Regions from separate parts of the Homo sapiens genome. Here all the other regions are linked to region 1. Evidence: promoter capture Hi-C in 16 types of primary human blood cells and fetal thymus (Javierre and others, 2016). All regions are on one chromosome and are shown on one strand. Each heading gives the region's core, a stretch centred on a gene start or on the middle of the fragment in contact. The rest is flanking DNA. Distances are from core to core; before and after follow the strand shown.

What was found. Contacts are between HindIII fragments. The CHiCAGO score rates a contact against its expected background, and 5 or more counts as called.
Region 2: a contact is called between a fragment that was not itself captured here and the fragment with the promoter of RPS26 in region 1, in 1 of 17 cell types (M2 macrophages). The highest score is 5.5, in M2 macrophages.
Region 3: a fragment that was not itself captured here is called in contact with the fragment with the promoter of RPS26 in region 1 in 3 of 17 cell types (total CD8 T cells, naive CD8 T cells and fetal thymus); the score reaches 5.3 in total CD8 T cells.
Region 4: a contact is called between a fragment that was not itself captured here and the fragment with the promoter of RPS26 in region 1, in 1 of 17 cell types (naive CD8 T cells). The highest score is 5.3, in naive CD8 T cells.

Annotation. Positions count from the first base shown.
Region 1 is chr12:56,040,668-56,044,438 of GRCh38, reverse strand. It overlaps RPS26 (ribosomal protein S26), which reads right to left and starts at 2,521. Exons shown (of 4, transcript NM_001029.5): 1 at 2,270-2,521; 2 at 1,837-2,014; 3 at 946-1,076; 4 at 1-320. The coding sequence starts at 2,272. The coding sequence ends at 285. RefSeq lists enhancers at 1,833-2,092, 2,233-2,562, 2,011-2,800 and a silencer at 2,713-2,772. The HindIII fragment of the contact is 3,314 bases long and covers 122-3,435 here.
Region 2 is chr12:55,667,722-55,671,719 of GRCh38, reverse strand. No RefSeq gene overlaps it. Among named protein-coding and RNA genes, the nearest start is that of TMT1B, 12 kb to the left of the region's middle. The HindIII fragment of the contact is 1,116 bases long and covers 1,355-2,470 here.
Region 3 is chr12:56,315,780-56,319,486 of GRCh38, reverse strand. PAN2 (poly(A) specific ribonuclease subunit PAN2) reads left to right here. Exons shown (of 26, transcript NM_014871.6): 23 at 1-179; 24 at 306-399; 25 at 1,053-1,250; 26 at 1,844-2,551. The coding sequence ends at 1,878. CNPY2 (canopy FGF signaling regulator 2) reads left to right here and starts at 3,499. Exons shown (of 6, transcript NM_014255.7): 1 at 3,499-3,666. RefSeq lists enhancers at 3,146-3,295, 3,376-3,425, 2,926-3,514. The HindIII fragment of the contact is 2,294 bases long and covers 104-2,397 here.
Region 4 is chr12:56,489,360-56,493,009 of GRCh38, reverse strand. No RefSeq gene overlaps it. Among named protein-coding and RNA genes, the nearest start is that of GLS2, 3.0 kb to the right of the region's middle. The HindIII fragment of the contact is 1,138 bases long and covers 1,199-2,336 here.

The DNA of each region.
Region 1 (3,771 bases), core at 1,272-3,771:
CCGGGAGACGGAGGTTGCAGTGAGCTGAGATCACGCCACTGCAATTCAGCTTGGGCGACAAAGACTCCGTCTCAAAAAAAAAAAAAAAAAAAAGAAAAAAATTAAATTACATGAATAAGCTTTCTTCCCCATGAAAATAATGTGTGTCACTTCACACTTGGTCTAACACACAAAATCCCCACCTTATCTGGCACAGATACACTTAACATGCAATATTAAGTACAATTTCCATTTTATTTTTCTCCAGAGAATAGCCTGTCTTCAGTCTTTAAGAACTCAGCTCCTTACATGGGCTTTGGTGGGGGACGTGGGGCAGCACCCTGAAAGACAAAGAAACAAAAGAGTAAATTAAAACCCATGGATCCAAGACTCCCTTCCCCCAAAGAACTTGACCACCATCCTCTCACAAACTGATGTATTCAGGCTACAAATGCATGGGAAGCTGATAGAGGTGGAGGGAGAACACTACTCTGCATCCTAAAAACCAATTCTGATTCTAACACTGCTTTGCAGTGTCTCTAAGCATGTTCAGGTGTGGGTCTCACCTGCCTTACAGCTTAACCTGAGGCACAGACCTTAATTTGATACCCCCTGCACCACAGGAGGAAGCAACTTTTTTTTTTTTTTAAGAGACAAGGTCTCACTTTTGCCCTGGCTGGAGCGCAAGTGGTATAATCATAGCTCACTGCAACCTCAAACTCCTGGGCTCAAGTGATCCTCCTGCCTCAGCCTCTCGAGCAGCCAGACTATAGGTTCACACTATCATGCTTGGCTTCCTTCTCAATATTTTTTGAAGAGATGGGGTCTTGAACTGCTGGTTTCTAGCAATCTTCTTGTCCCAGCCTCCCAAAGTGTTGAGGTTACAGGTATAGGACACCCTGACCCTCCAGGATGAAATTTTAACCATCACTCCCCTGGCTTCCATTCTCCTTTTAAAATACTCACCGCAGGTCTAAATCGGGGTGGGGGTGTTCGGTCCTTGCGGGCTTCACGAGATCGATTCCTGACTACTTTGCTGTGAATTGCACAACTCACACAGTAATGTAGCTTCACATACAGCTTGGGAAGCACATAGGCTAAGGAATAGAAAATAGAGTTATACTGGTATTATATACCTACCTTGCTTTTTTGTTACATGAATGAAGAGCACCTTACATGTTTACGTCAATTAAAACTAAACCTATTTAAATGCCTGTCGGGCACATAAAAGCACCCCCAAAGCACCTGTTCAGCCCAATACCTGAGCACATATGTATAACCCTCAGTTTTACAAGTGAATTAACATCCCACGTGAGTTCATCTTGACACCGCAAGGACCAGACTGACATTCTAAATGCAATAAACCAATAATCCAGTTCCTTCTACACCTACACCCGCCCTAATGCCTACCCTGAACCTTGCTCTTTCTATAAAAGGAAAAAAACAAAGCGACGTTCTTATTGCTCCAAACATCATCCTTGCACACCAAACTAGACGGCCTCCATTCTCGAAACGTTGAAGACATTCTTCCTCACCTGTATATTTTCACAAATATTCAAATAATCAATAGCACAAGAATTGTCAAATTTACCAAGTTTCTAGTTTTTGCAATCTCATAACCGAAACAGGCAAACCTTTACCTCAGAGTAAAGGCTGTGCACTCTATCACAAAGTCACCCTCTGCCCAGAAAAGAATCAAAACGGCAAACAAGAGAATTCTCTTCTACCAGTAACAACCTTAAATACGTGGAAATTGCCTGAGAGGCTCCAAAGAACAGAGCCTCCAAAAGGGCGAAGTTGGGCGAAGGCTTTAAGATACTGGGATCCTCACACAGTTCGCGCCGGTGACCCACTTACCATCGAAGACGCTCGCTTCAGAAATGTCCCTGACTGCTGCGGCCTCCACTATGTTTCGAATGACGAATTTCTTAATGGCCTTGTCCTTGGGCACGCATCGGGCACAGTTAGTGCAGCGAATAGGCTGCACGTGGCCGCGGCCCTTTTTGGCACGACCATTGTTCCTTCTTTTCTTTGTCTGCGACAGGATGGGAAAACTGTTAGGAAAACGGCGCAACTCACCCAGCCTCAGTCCCTTTCCGGCCACAAGCCGCACCGGCAGCCTCCAGGAAGGCGCCGCTCGGATCTCCTGTTTCTCCGCAAATCCCGCCGACCCCCAGAGCAAATGAAATGTACACTCGGTCCACCCCTCAGCCGTGCTCCAGGCTCTCACTTCCCCACAATCCCAGAGTCTGCACCCGAACCCCCACCCTCACCACGCAAGAAGACTCACCATCTTGGAGGCACGGACCGGAGAGAGGAGACGGTGCCTGGCAGGGCCCTCCTATATAGCATGAGATCCCTACGCGGACACCGGGAGAATCCTTAGGAGACGGGCTTCAAGAACGGCAACTCACTTTACTCAAATATTCCTTTACATTCAGCATTTCTGCTGAAATCTAGGGTGGAAATGCGTTCCTAGTGTTTATTTATCCATGGAACAAAGTGCACATGGGACTATTTAGCCGGATGGCGGAAGAAAATCGAGGTTATGTGTCTCCCAGCAAGCCTTGCGCCGCGCCGACTCGGAAGCAATTCTGGACGATGCAGTTTTCCGGTATACGCGACGCTAGGCGTGAAAGTTGCCAGACGCTGGACCACAAGGCGCACTCGTTATTAGAGGCCAGAGAGGGACAGATGCTTGGTGGGAATTGTAGTGCGAAGCCAAGAGGCTCCCCCCTCCCCCCCTTCCCCCCTGCCCCAAGTGCTTAGACCGAAGGCGGCGCTGCGCCACCGGGGGACGCCCTGGGCTCATTTCTCTGACAGTCCTTCTACTAGGTAGGTGTAGGATTACGAAGAGGAAGGCCTGAGAGGAAACAAGCATTTTGTGAATCCCTCCTTCCAATATGGAGAAAATCCCACAATGAAGTGCATTGAGGCTGGGGCTATTTCTCATTCATCTTTTTATCTCTGGCACAGTGCCTGGCCCTGTGGTAAGCGTCTTTATAAATATTAACTCATTTAACTTTGAGCAAGCCTATAGGTAGCTACTATTATTATCCTCACTTTAAAGATTGAAGAATTTAGCCCGGCCTGGTGGTGGGCGCCTGTAATCCCAGGTACTCAGGAGGCTAAGACAGGAGAATCTTGAACCTGGGAGGCGGAGTTTCCAGTGAGCCGAGATCGCGCCACTGCACTCTAGCCTGGGTAAAAAGATCGAAACTCTGTCTCAAAAATAAATAAATCAATTAAAAAAAAAGATTGAAGAACTGACGTGCAGTAGGTATTCTGGCTCCGCTGTACTATGCTGTATGTCACCTAACAAATGGATGGAGGAATAGCCTGGACTAATGACTTAAACGTTTTTCACCCAGATTCATAGCACGAATACATTTTACATTGGTACCCAGTACACACACAAACACGATTACATGCACATGCAAAACTGAAACACAAGCTTTATGAAACGATACTTACCCTTGTCATAGGTGTGCTGGTATGTTCTATTCTTTATTTTTACTTAATCTTTCTGTTCTCTATTTTAATAAATGCTGATCAAAAACCACGAAAATTATTTCACCACTCATTAGTGAATCTGACCCCTAATTGAAAGATTATGTGTAAGCTCCATTTACCTCTGAAGAGCCATCGGAAAGACTTAAGCCTTAGGCTGGGTGCAGTGGCTCACGCCTGTAATCCCAACACTTTGGGAGGCCAAGGCAGGCGGATCACCTGAGGTCAGGAGTTCAAGACCAGCCTAGTCAACATAGTGACACCCCACCTCTACTAAAAATA
Region 2 (3,998 bases), core at 663-3,162, 370 kb after region 1:
CCAACTCCAATGGGGTTACAGGTCTCTTTTTCCTCCACGCTATATACATATACTGTTATTGTGCTGAAAAGATCTGCTTACATATCTATCTATCTTTTTTTTTTTTGAGATGGAGTCTTGCTCTCTCGCCTAGGCGGGAGTGCAGCAGCGTGATCTTGGCTCACTGCAACCTCCACCTCCCGGGTTCAAGTGATTCTCCTGCCTCAGCCTCCAGAGTAGCTGGGATTAACAGGCATGCACAACCATGCCCAGCTAATTTTTTGTATTTTTAGTAGAGACAGGGTTTTACCATGTTGGCCAAGCTGGTCTTGAACTCCTGACCTCAGGTGATCTGCCCCCCTCAGCCTCCCAAAGTGTTGTGATTACAAGTGTGAGCCACCGCTTCTGGCCCATATCTATCTTCTTTAATGGCCTGTTGCCTTATGGGACACAGTGACTATGCCTTATATATTCTTATGGCCCTAATAGATTAATGATCAATAATGTTTGCAGAATGAACAAATGCTGTAAAGGAACCAAATGAATAATAAAACACACATATAGGAAACTATTGAGTGAAATTCAAAGCACTGTGTGATTAGTGCACAATATATGTGGGACAGACTCTAAGTTCTGTAGGCTGGAGCATTCTATGGGGGGATGAGTTCTCTTCCCTTAGTAGAAATTAAGGCTGTTGATACTGTAAACATTTTTTTTTAATTTTGCAAAACTATAATTGGTATTCCAGAACTGTGCTAATTAAAGTTTGTTTTCTGGACCAACATGGGCTTCACTTGCGTGTTTGTTAGAAATGCAGGCTTTAGGGCCTCACTCCAGACCTACTGAATCTGAATCTGCATTTTTAACAAGACTCCCAGGTCATTCGAATGTGCATTCCATTTTGAGAGGCACTGTCCGAGAAAACAATTCTGTTGCCTGGGAAAGGATGGAGCCTGTGAGCTCAGGTCTTAGGTCTCTTTTGCTCCTCAGGAAGTAGTGCTCTGTGGGGCTCGGCTGACGGATGTTAGAGCCAGACTTCAGGAGAAATAGAGCAAAGGACTTGAATCTAGTAGGTGTGACCAGATGAGCAGGTCTGGAGACTCAGCATCTCACAGGCAGGGTTAAACAGGAGCTGTCTGGGGACTGGGACTGGGACTGGGACTGGGCTTGGCTAAATAGGACTAAATAGATCTAGCCAAAATCAGGCTGGCTAGGTGTGGCAGTAAGTGGGCCTAGATGGAAGTGGTAGGCCAGATAGTCAGAGGCCTGGTCAGCAAGCATGGGTCAGGGTGAGAATCAGATGAGGTAGTTCCTGGGGCTGGGGCAGGGACTGGGGCTGGGCCCTCAGCTCAGAAGGTCAGGGATAGGGCAAGCTTCAGGAATGGGGTGAGGCTCAGGGTTGGGGTAAAGGTCAGAATGTTCAGTGCAAAATGGTTTTTGGCAATCTGAAGCAATATTTTTACATTTTGAAGGGGTGGCTGTTAAAATGTCCTGCTTTTTACTGAAGTTAGCAGACTTTCAGGCCTCTGTTTCTAAGGACATCTTACAGGGAGCATGGGGTGAAGTTGCAGAAGAGCGCGTGCCCTCCCAGCACCCCAATGTGCTCTTGTTATATGTATTTGTTGTGTGACTCCTGCATGTCATTCTCTTGTGTTCAAATACGATGGTTTGATATTTCACAGCAAAAATAATTGAAACCATCCAGATACACGTTAGAATGTGAACTATTATACACTTAAGAAGTTCTAAGACCTCCCTTTTCTTTCTGTCAGGAGAGAGAGTTGTGGATCAGAATTTGGAGCTCGCACCCATGACCTGGGAGGGACTGAGTGACCTGTTAGAGCTAGTGCAGGCTCAGAAACTCAGTAATTCCTTGGTGCAGTCATATTAGTGTTATCATTTTGGAAGGAATATGGTAAAAATGTTAACATTAGGGGCAATATATGCTTTCTTTCTTTTCTTTTCTTTTCTTTTTTTTTTTTTTTTGAGATAGAGTCTTGATCTGTCGCCCAGGCTGGAGTGCAATGGCACCATCTTGGCTCATTTCAATCTCTGCCTCCTGGGTTCAAGCAATTCTCCTGCCTCAGCCTCCCGAGTAGCTAGGATTATAGGCACCCGCCACCACGCCCGGCTAATTTTCTTTTGTATTTTTAGTAGACATGGGGTTTCACCATGTTGGCCAAGCTGGTCTCGAACTCCTGACCTCAGGTGATCCATTTGCTTGGCCTCCCAAAGTTCTAGGATTATATGCGCGAGCCACTGCACCCAGCCTATGCTTTCTTAATATGAAACTAGATTGTCTTGACTTGATAGAAAAATTAATCCTTGCTATGGTGAGGTGTGCTTGCTTCTTTGGTAACCTGTGAAGAAACTGGATGCAGCATGCAATGTCTTCTTCATTCATGGAACCAGAGATAGTTCCTTGCCACTTTGGACCTGATAAAATCTGTAAAGAAGAAAGATTGTTATTATTTGGCTAAAATCTGAAGCTTAACATGGGTTGAGAGAGAGGAAGGGTCCACAAGAAACTCTTTTCTTCTTAAAACCTAGATCTAAAAGGGCTGTTACTTATGTGATACAAGGGAATTAGCTATTATTATTATTATTATTATTATTATTTTTGAGAGGGAGTTTTGCTCTGTCGCCCAGGCTGGAGTGCAGTGGCACGATCGCGGCTCACTGCAACTTCCACCTCCTGGGTTCAAGCGATTCTCCTGCCTCAGCCTACTGAGTAGCTGGGATTACAGGCACCCGCCACCATGCCCAGCTAATTTTTGTATTTTTTTTTTTTTTGAGACGGAGTCTCGCTCTGTCGCCCAGGCTGCAGTGCAGTGGCACGATCTCAGCTCACTGCAAGCTCCGCCTCCGGGGTTCATGCCATTCTCCTGCCTCAGCCTCCCGAGTAGCTAGGACTACAGGCACCCGCCACCACACCCGGCTAATTTTTTGTATTTTTAGTAGAGACGGGGTTTCACCGTGTTAGCCAGGATGGTCGCGATCTCCTGACCTCATGATCCGCGCGCCTCGGCCTCCCAAAGTGCTGGGATTACAGGCTTGAGCCACCGCGCCCAGCCAATTTTTGTATTTTTAGTAGAGATGGGGTTTCACCATGTTGGCCAGGCTGGTCTCAAGTGATCCACCTGTCCTGGCCTCCCAAAGTGCTGGGATTACAGGCAGGAGCCACCACGCCTGGCCTGGGAATGAGTTATTTAGATAAATCAGCAACTTCCAGTCCTTTTACTCTACAATTCTCTGTAATAGTTCCCTGGCGTGCCAGGAAAGAAAATAGTGTAGATCCACTAAAGCAGTGAGAGTGATTTTTTTTTCTCCCCGTGGAAGCCTGGAGAGGCAAGAGAATGCTGGCAGGGGCTGAGATATGATGGCCATGGATGGGGAGTGGATGCACCTGTCCCCATCACCTTGGGTTTGCTAGGAGGAGCCAACTTGTGATCCACTGAGCTGCAAGTGGCTCTCCTGGCAAGAGAGAACGTAAGGCTGATTTATCTGAATTCTCATTCCCTTCTGTCCATAGGAGAGCAAAGAACTCCCAGTAGGAAGGAAAGGAAGGGTCTTATTGTTACTCAGGGAACCAGAAGAAGTGTGGCCTGGGCCTGGTATTCATGAAGGGCCTCAAGCACAGTATAGACTTTGCTATTATTGCCATATAAGATCACACTGTCTTTGTATTTATTGGATTAACTCAAAGTTTTGATTGGTTAAAAACAAACATCTGCAGTCAGGCGCGGTGGCTCACGCCTGTAATCCCAGCACTTTGGGAGGCCGAGGCGGGTGGATCATGAGGTCAGGAGATTGAGACCATCCTGATTAACACGGTGAAACCCCATCTCTACTAAAAATATAAAAAATTAGACGGGCGTGGTGGCTGGCACCTGTAGTCCCAGCTACTTGGGAGGCTGAGGCAGGAGAATAGCGTGAACCTGTGAGGCAGAGCTTGCAGTAAGCCGAGATCGCGCCACTGCACTCCAGCCTGGGCTACAGAGCGAGACTCCGTCTCAAAC
Region 3 (3,707 bases), core at 1-2,500, 280 kb before region 1:
TGGTGGATTACTTGACTCAATACTCGGGTATAAAGCCTGGTGACCTCGATGCCAAAATTTCCTCCAAGCACCTAACAACTCTCAAGTCTACCTACTTAAAGCTTCGTTTTCTCATTGACATTGGAGTCAAGTTTGTGGGTCATGGCCTGCAGAAGGACTTCCGGGTCATCAACCTGATGGTTTGGCAGGGCTCTTTTAAGAGTCTTCTTGTGAGAGTGGGCCCCTCAGGGTATACATTGTGCCTTTAGAGAATGGGGAATTATAGGTCCCCTACCTTAAGTCTCCCCCTCTTTTATCCTTGCCAGGTGCCCAAGGACCAAGTCCTTGACACTGTCTACCTGTTCCATATGCCCCGAAAACGAATGATTTCCCTGCGATTCCTTGCTTGGTACTTTCTGGGTGAGTTGCTCTGCCTTGTAGGCCCCTGCTACATTAATAGCAGAAGCAGCCATTTAAAAAAAAAGAAATCATGTTCTTTGCGGCAACATGGATGGAGCTGTGGGCCATCATACTAAGTGAACTAACTCAGAAACAGAAAATCAAATACCACATATTCTCACTTATAAGTTGGAACTAAACAATGAGTACATATGGACATAAGAATGACATTAGGGACTCTAAAAGTTGGGGTGGTGGGTGAGGGGTGAGGGTTGAAAATTACGTATTGGGTGCATAGTTCACTATTTGCATATTAGGGATACCAGAAGCCCAGTCCCCACCAGTACACGATACACCCATGTAACAAACATGCACATGTACCCCAAATCTAAAATAAAATTTAAATATAAAAAATAAAAGCATGGGGGGAAAAGAAAAAGTAGGAAAAGTGTTAGAGGACAAAATGGGAGTAGGGGAGACCCTCAGTTAGTGGTGACAGTTACTAATGGATTTAATTAACTTCAATATCCCTTCTGTGCACTGAGGAAGATGTCTGACAATTTTCCTTAAGGGCAGTCAGGCTTTTTAGTTTTCTGGAGTCAGGTAGGAGTGGGGAGACATGTTCCTACCTCCCTTTGCTGGGTCCCAAACTATTCCACCTTTACTTACCCCAGACCTGAAGATTCAAGGGGAAACCCATGACAGTATTGAGGATGCCCGCACAGCCCTTCAGCTGTACCGAAAGTATCTGGAGCTAAGCAAAAATGGCACTGAGCCTGAGTCTTTCCACAAGGTGCTCAAGGGTCTTTATGAGAAGGGCAGAAAGATGGACTGGAAGGTGCCTGAGCCTGAGGGCCAAACAAGTCCCAAGAGTAAGACCTGGGATGGGACAAGGGAAACTGGACTGGGTGGATTTTGTATTTTGTTTGTTTGTGACAGGGTCTCACTCTGTCACCCAGGCTGAAGTGCAGTAGCGTGATTACAGCTCACTGCAGCCTCGACTTCCTGGGCTCAAGTGATTCTCCCACCTCAGCCTCCCAAGTACCTGGGACAACAGGCACACACCACCACACCCAGCTAATTTTTGTACTTTTTGTAGAAACAGGATTTTGCCATGTTGCCCAGGCTGGTCTTAAACTCCTGGGCTCAAGCGATCCACCCACCTTGGGCTCACAAAGTGCTGGGATTACAGGCATGAGCCTGAGCGCCCCCAATTGGGTGGATTTTGATTGCACATATGGAGAATAGCACTTAACAGTTTACAAAGCACTTCATCCTCCTAACATTCAGTAAAATACATTTTATCGAAACTCTCCATTAACTATAACTTCCTCTTGCCCAAGTCTAAAATGTTCAGGGAAGGTCCATGCCCTTTTTTCTCTTGCATTTTTCCTTCATAGGAAGTATGAGAAGATGCTTTTTCTCCACTCAGCTTGAATCATGCTTTTGGTTTTGTCTCTGACAGATGCAGCTGTCTTCTCCTCAGTGCTGGCGCTCTGACTACCCTTCCCAAAGAACCACGGCCCTCTCCCTTTACTGTTCTATAGCCCCAGAACTGGGAGATGGCTTCCTAAGTTGGCTATACCTTGTCCACTTCCAGTACTGGACGTGCTCAGGGTCTAGGGTCACAGATGGTGCTATTAATTGAACTGGAACACAGCAGAATTGTTGCAAAGGTTCTAGGAGCCAGATTCATTCCTTCTTCATTCTTTGCAAAACAGTGGTACAGACATGGAGTCTAGAATTGACCCAGATGGAAAGTAATTGGTATTCTTAATATCCTGGGTGACTAATATCCAGGCAGAGAAGCTCCTGGAACCATAACTGTAAGTTCCTAGCTGGCTAGGGATTGAAGTCCTGGACAGTGACAGAGGATACCACAGTAGTTCAAGACTTAGCACAAGTCACCAACTGCTTCAGGGATACCTGGAGGGGCCAGCAAGTAGAGTGTTGGTGGCCCAAGCAAACCAGTGTTGCCAATACCATTGCCAAAAGGGCCTTTGGATCCTGGACAAAGCTTGGCTGCCGGCTTCATTTATTCCTGCTGATGGCTGAGAAGCATCTGTCTTCCATCCCACTTGCCTGTCCCAAGTTTTGTTCCATTTTTTAAAAATTTGTTGTAAACTGCATGTTTTATAAAATAAAAATAAAATATCGTTTGTTATTTATCTCATTAGAGAACTGCTAGTGTGGGTTCTCTGGCTTCAGTCTTCCTCTCCTTCCTTTGAAGGTAAAGGTCCGGAATCCAAAGTTATGGATATGAAAGGGTATAATTAGGCCGGGCGCGGTGGCTCACTTCTGTAATCCTAGCACTTTGGGAGGCAGAGGTGGGTGGAACACGAGGTCAGGAGTTAAAGACCAGCCTGACCAAGATGGTGAAACCCCGTCTCTACTAAAAATACAAAAATTAGCTGGGAGTGGTGGATGGCGACTGTAACCCTAGCTGAGGCAGAAAATTGCTTCAACCCGGGAGGCGGAGGTTGCAGTGAGCCGAGATCACGCCACTGTATGCCAGCCTGGGCGATAGGGCGAGACTCCGTCTCAAAAAAAGGGGAAAAAGGTATAATTTATGCCTTTTCTGGGCAATGCTGGGTCTTTGCTATAGCTGCCCAGTACCCTAAGTCAGACTGAAGATGTACAGTATGGTTTCCGTTAATTGTGTAAGCCGACAAACTACAGGTCCCAGGATAGCTTGAGACTTGTAGTTGCTCACAAAGATGGGTCCGGTGCTGCGGTGCTTCCTGGGAGATGTAGTTTCCTGTGTATTGAAACCTGGACTGCTCGCTGGCCGGCAGCGCACCGTTTTGAAGGTCCTAGCCCACCTGGGCTGGCTCACGCGCACGACTAGCCGCTCCCATACAGCACGCCCGGACTCTGTCGTCGCTTAAGGCCACTCCTATTCTACGGCTGACCCCTGGTGGTCACGTGGATCTGTTCGCCACGCAAGTCTGGGTCCTTCGGCGATTGACCGGGGTCCTTGCTGTTCGGGAGCCTCTCCTAAGCTGCCTGTTCGCGCGAGAGTTTGGAGGGGCGGGTTTGGGGTCGGTGTCTGATTGGGGCTCGCACCGCAGCACGCTGGAGTCCCGCTTAGGTACCAGTTAGCGTCAGGGGAGCTGGGTCAGGCGGTCGCCGGGACACCCCGTGTGTGGCAGGCGGCGAAGCGCTCTGGAGAATCCCGGACAGCCCTGCTCCCTGCAGCCAGGTGTAGTTTCGGGAGCCACTGGGGCCAAAGTGAGAGTCCAGCGGTCTTCCAGCGCTTGGGCCACGGCGGCGGCCCTGGGAGCAGAGGTGGGACGGATGCGGGCGGCGAGGCGCTGGGCGCTGAGGGT
Region 4 (3,650 bases), core at 518-3,017, 450 kb before region 1:
TTTAACCTAGTCTTTTAGAGAAGGGTCTCATTTGTTCACTACAGAGTAATACAAGATTCTGACATCTTTCATAGTCTTTAAGTCAAAGAAAAACAAGTATTAAAATACTATTTCTCTAGCAATAACTTGGAGAAGGGAAAAAAGAAAAAAGAAAATGCTATCAAGCAAACCCCGAAGGTATTTTCTTCTTGCTGTGTTGGCAAAGGCTTTCAAATTCCTTCAAATTAGCTTTCGCCTACAGACTTTTCTAAATCCTTTTTAGGAATTCTAGCAAAATCTACATTATTTTAGTATATTTTGTTGATTAAGACTTGCTAGAATCTACTTTAATAGCTATTGGAGAACCCAGATTATACAAGATATTATTTGGAAAAATAGAGAAAATGCATGTTAGGCATCGTAAATGGACCAGTGTGATGATATGTTTTTTAATAGGCTTATATTTATATTTTTTCAGTCCTATAAATGTTCATTTTGTTATTGCTAAACCAAAGAAGAATTAGGAAAGCACACTGGAGTAGATCACAGACACGCTTAAACTTTTATTAAATTTCATTTACTCCATGAAAGTCTAGCATCAAGTTAAAACATGCATCCCATACCTACATCCTCAGTTTCATTGGTCCCCATTCTTTTTTTTTTTTTTTTTTTTTTTTTTGAGATGGAGTCTCGCTGTCACCCAGGCTGGAGTGCAGTGGCGCGATCTTGGCTCACTGCAACCTCTGCCTCCCAGGTTCAACTGATTCTCCTGCCTCAGCCTCCTGAGTAGCTGAGATTACAGGTGCATGCCACCACGCCTGGCTAATTTTTGTATTTTCAGTAGAGATGGGGTTTCACCGTGTTGGTCAGGCTGGTCTCGAACTCCTGACCTTGTGATCTGCCCACCTCAGTCTCCCAAAGTGCTGGGATTACAGGCATAAGCCACCACGCCCGGCTGGTCCACATTCTTATACCCACGTTTCATTCCAACCAAACTAGAGGTAGAGTCCCTCAAATGTTCCTCTCAGGCTATGTTTATTCTTGTAGAGCCCTCTGTCTGAAACACCTCTCGTGCTTTAAAAACCAGCTCCTGTCAGTCACCATTCCTCTTCTATCCCAGTGGCCCTTCACCCCCAGCTTAGTTAGATGTCCCCTTTATACTTTCTTCTGCATGTCTCTACATCACAGCATTTTTCATTAGGAATTTTAAACATAAGCTTTCTCATTTCTCCCAGTAGAAACTGGTTTATTAAATTTTTAAATTTCTGGATTTTCCAGCACTGGACCTGGCACACTGAATGCCAACAAATAAATATTAATTGAGTGAATGGAAGCTCATTATGTCAGAGCCCCAAGTACTTACATTTTACCCAGTAAAATACAAGTTTATCTTTTACAAATGGAGAAACTAAGGCAGAAAGGAGTTTGTAACAATAGTATCATTAACAAAGATTAATAAAAAAATGAACTAATCTTTTACTTGGACCAATTAACATCCTAGCTACAGTCTAAAGAGTAGAACAGGCCAGGTGCGGTGGCTCACACCTGCAATCCTAGCACTTTGAGAGGCTGAGGCGGGCAAATCAAGGGGTCAGGAGTTCGAGACCAGCCTGGCCAACATAGTGAAACTCCGTCACTACTAAAAATACGAAAATTAGCCGAGCATATTGGCGGGTGCCTGTAATCCCAGCTATTCGGAAGGCTGAGGCAGGAGAATTGCTTGAACCCGGGAGGCGGATGTTGCAGTGAGCCAAGATCACACCATTGCACTCCAGCATGGACGACAGAGCGAGACTCCATCACACACACACACACACACACACACACACACACACACAAAATAGAGTAGAACAAATGAGTCTCTAAATCATAAGAAATAAACAAACTCCAAACATCAATTTCCTATCACAGAGGATTAGCTTTTCCTTCTTTCTTTCTTTTCTTTTTTTTTTTTTGTTTGAGACGGAGTTTTGCTCTTGTTGCCCGGGCTGGAGTGCAATGGCGTGATCTCAGCTCACCGCAACCTCCGCCTCCCAGATTCAAGCAATTCTCCTGCCTCAGCCTCCTGAGCAGCTGGGATTACAGGCATGAGCCACCGCGCCCGGCCCGGATTTAGCTTTTATTAAGGATTCAAAATCATTAAGTCTAATCCTCTCTCACATACCACAAAACTCTGGCACAGCCATGGACTAACCTAAAAGCCCACTGTTAGAGACACAAAGAACTTTCTTTCAGTTATGAAAATCTTCATTTCTAGCTGCCCTTGTCATAGTTGGCTAATAGTTTTGCACAAATTAAACTAGATGATGAGTATTTTTCAAATTAGAAACAAAAAGAGGACCTGACCCTGCCAAGCTTTAACCACCTGGGACAACAAACTTGTTCTTCTCCAGCATCTTATACTTTACACAGTACCATTGGCCTCCCAAGTCACCAGTTCATGCTCCATCCTCATGCAAAGACAGCAATATTGTATTGGAGACAGTTAGTCCAAAGGTCCAAGTGCAGCTGGAGCTAGTTCTCTAAGCAAAGAACCTCTGCTTCCATGCATAGATCTTCTTCACTACCCAACCAGTTCCTATTAGTGGAAGAGTGCTGGGAGAAAGAGAGTAAGGAACTCATTAGAGTATAAAGCTAATTCAAAGAGGCAGAAATAGGAAAAAAAGGAAGCAAATTACTTCTGGGTAATGTTTAGAAATTCCCTAACAGATGGTATTTTTCTCTTGAATAGATCAAAACGTTTCAGATAAATCATATTTCTATGAAACAAGGATAAGATTCGTCTGTTACGTATGAAAAAAACTAATGCAGGATTGAGTTTACGTTAAGTATTGAGACCCAGAACTCTGCCTCTTGGGCAAAGCCAAGCATAAAGCAGCAAGCCCTCCCAGAATTAGACGGCTTTCCACGGACAGGAGAACAGATACAGCAGACACAGAATGACTACAGAAGGCGAAAACAAGCAAAAACAAATGTCACTCCATCTGGTTTTAAGCCAAATAAGCCCTCCAACCCTAACCAAGGCAAAGGAGAACTGCCTTTCCACAGAACACACCTGACTGGTTTCAGTACTTGTTTTCCCACGAGTACCCTTGAAACTCATTTTAATCCAAAAATGAAAACTATGGGACAAGCACGGTGGCTCATGCCTGTAATCCCAGCACTTGTGGGAGGCTGAGGCGGGCGGATCATCTGAGGTCAGGAGTTTGAGACCAGCCTGACCGATATGGCGAAACCACATCTTTACTAAATACAAAAAATTAGCTGGGCGAGGTAGCAGGCGCCTGTAATCCCAGCTACTAGGGAGGCTGAGGCAGGAGAATCGCATGAACCCAGGAGGCGGAGGTTGCAGTGAGTCGAGATTGCGCCATTGCACTCCAGCTAGGGCAACAAGAGCAAAACTTCGTCTCAAAAACAAACAAACAAAAACTAGTATTTTGTGATACAGCCAGAACTATCACAAGGAAAAGACTCCCAGTACTGTATCATAATACTTCCACATAAAATACCTCCTTTAGGGATGGGGTCATTTCTCCCGGGATAATTCAATTCAATGCTTAATTTTTGAGAAGGGCTGCATGAAGGAGAGACTTGTAGTTAAAAAAAAAAAACGGGTCTAATTTCTGGTTCTGGTACTTACTAGCTGGGTTACCTTATGCGAGAATTCTTAA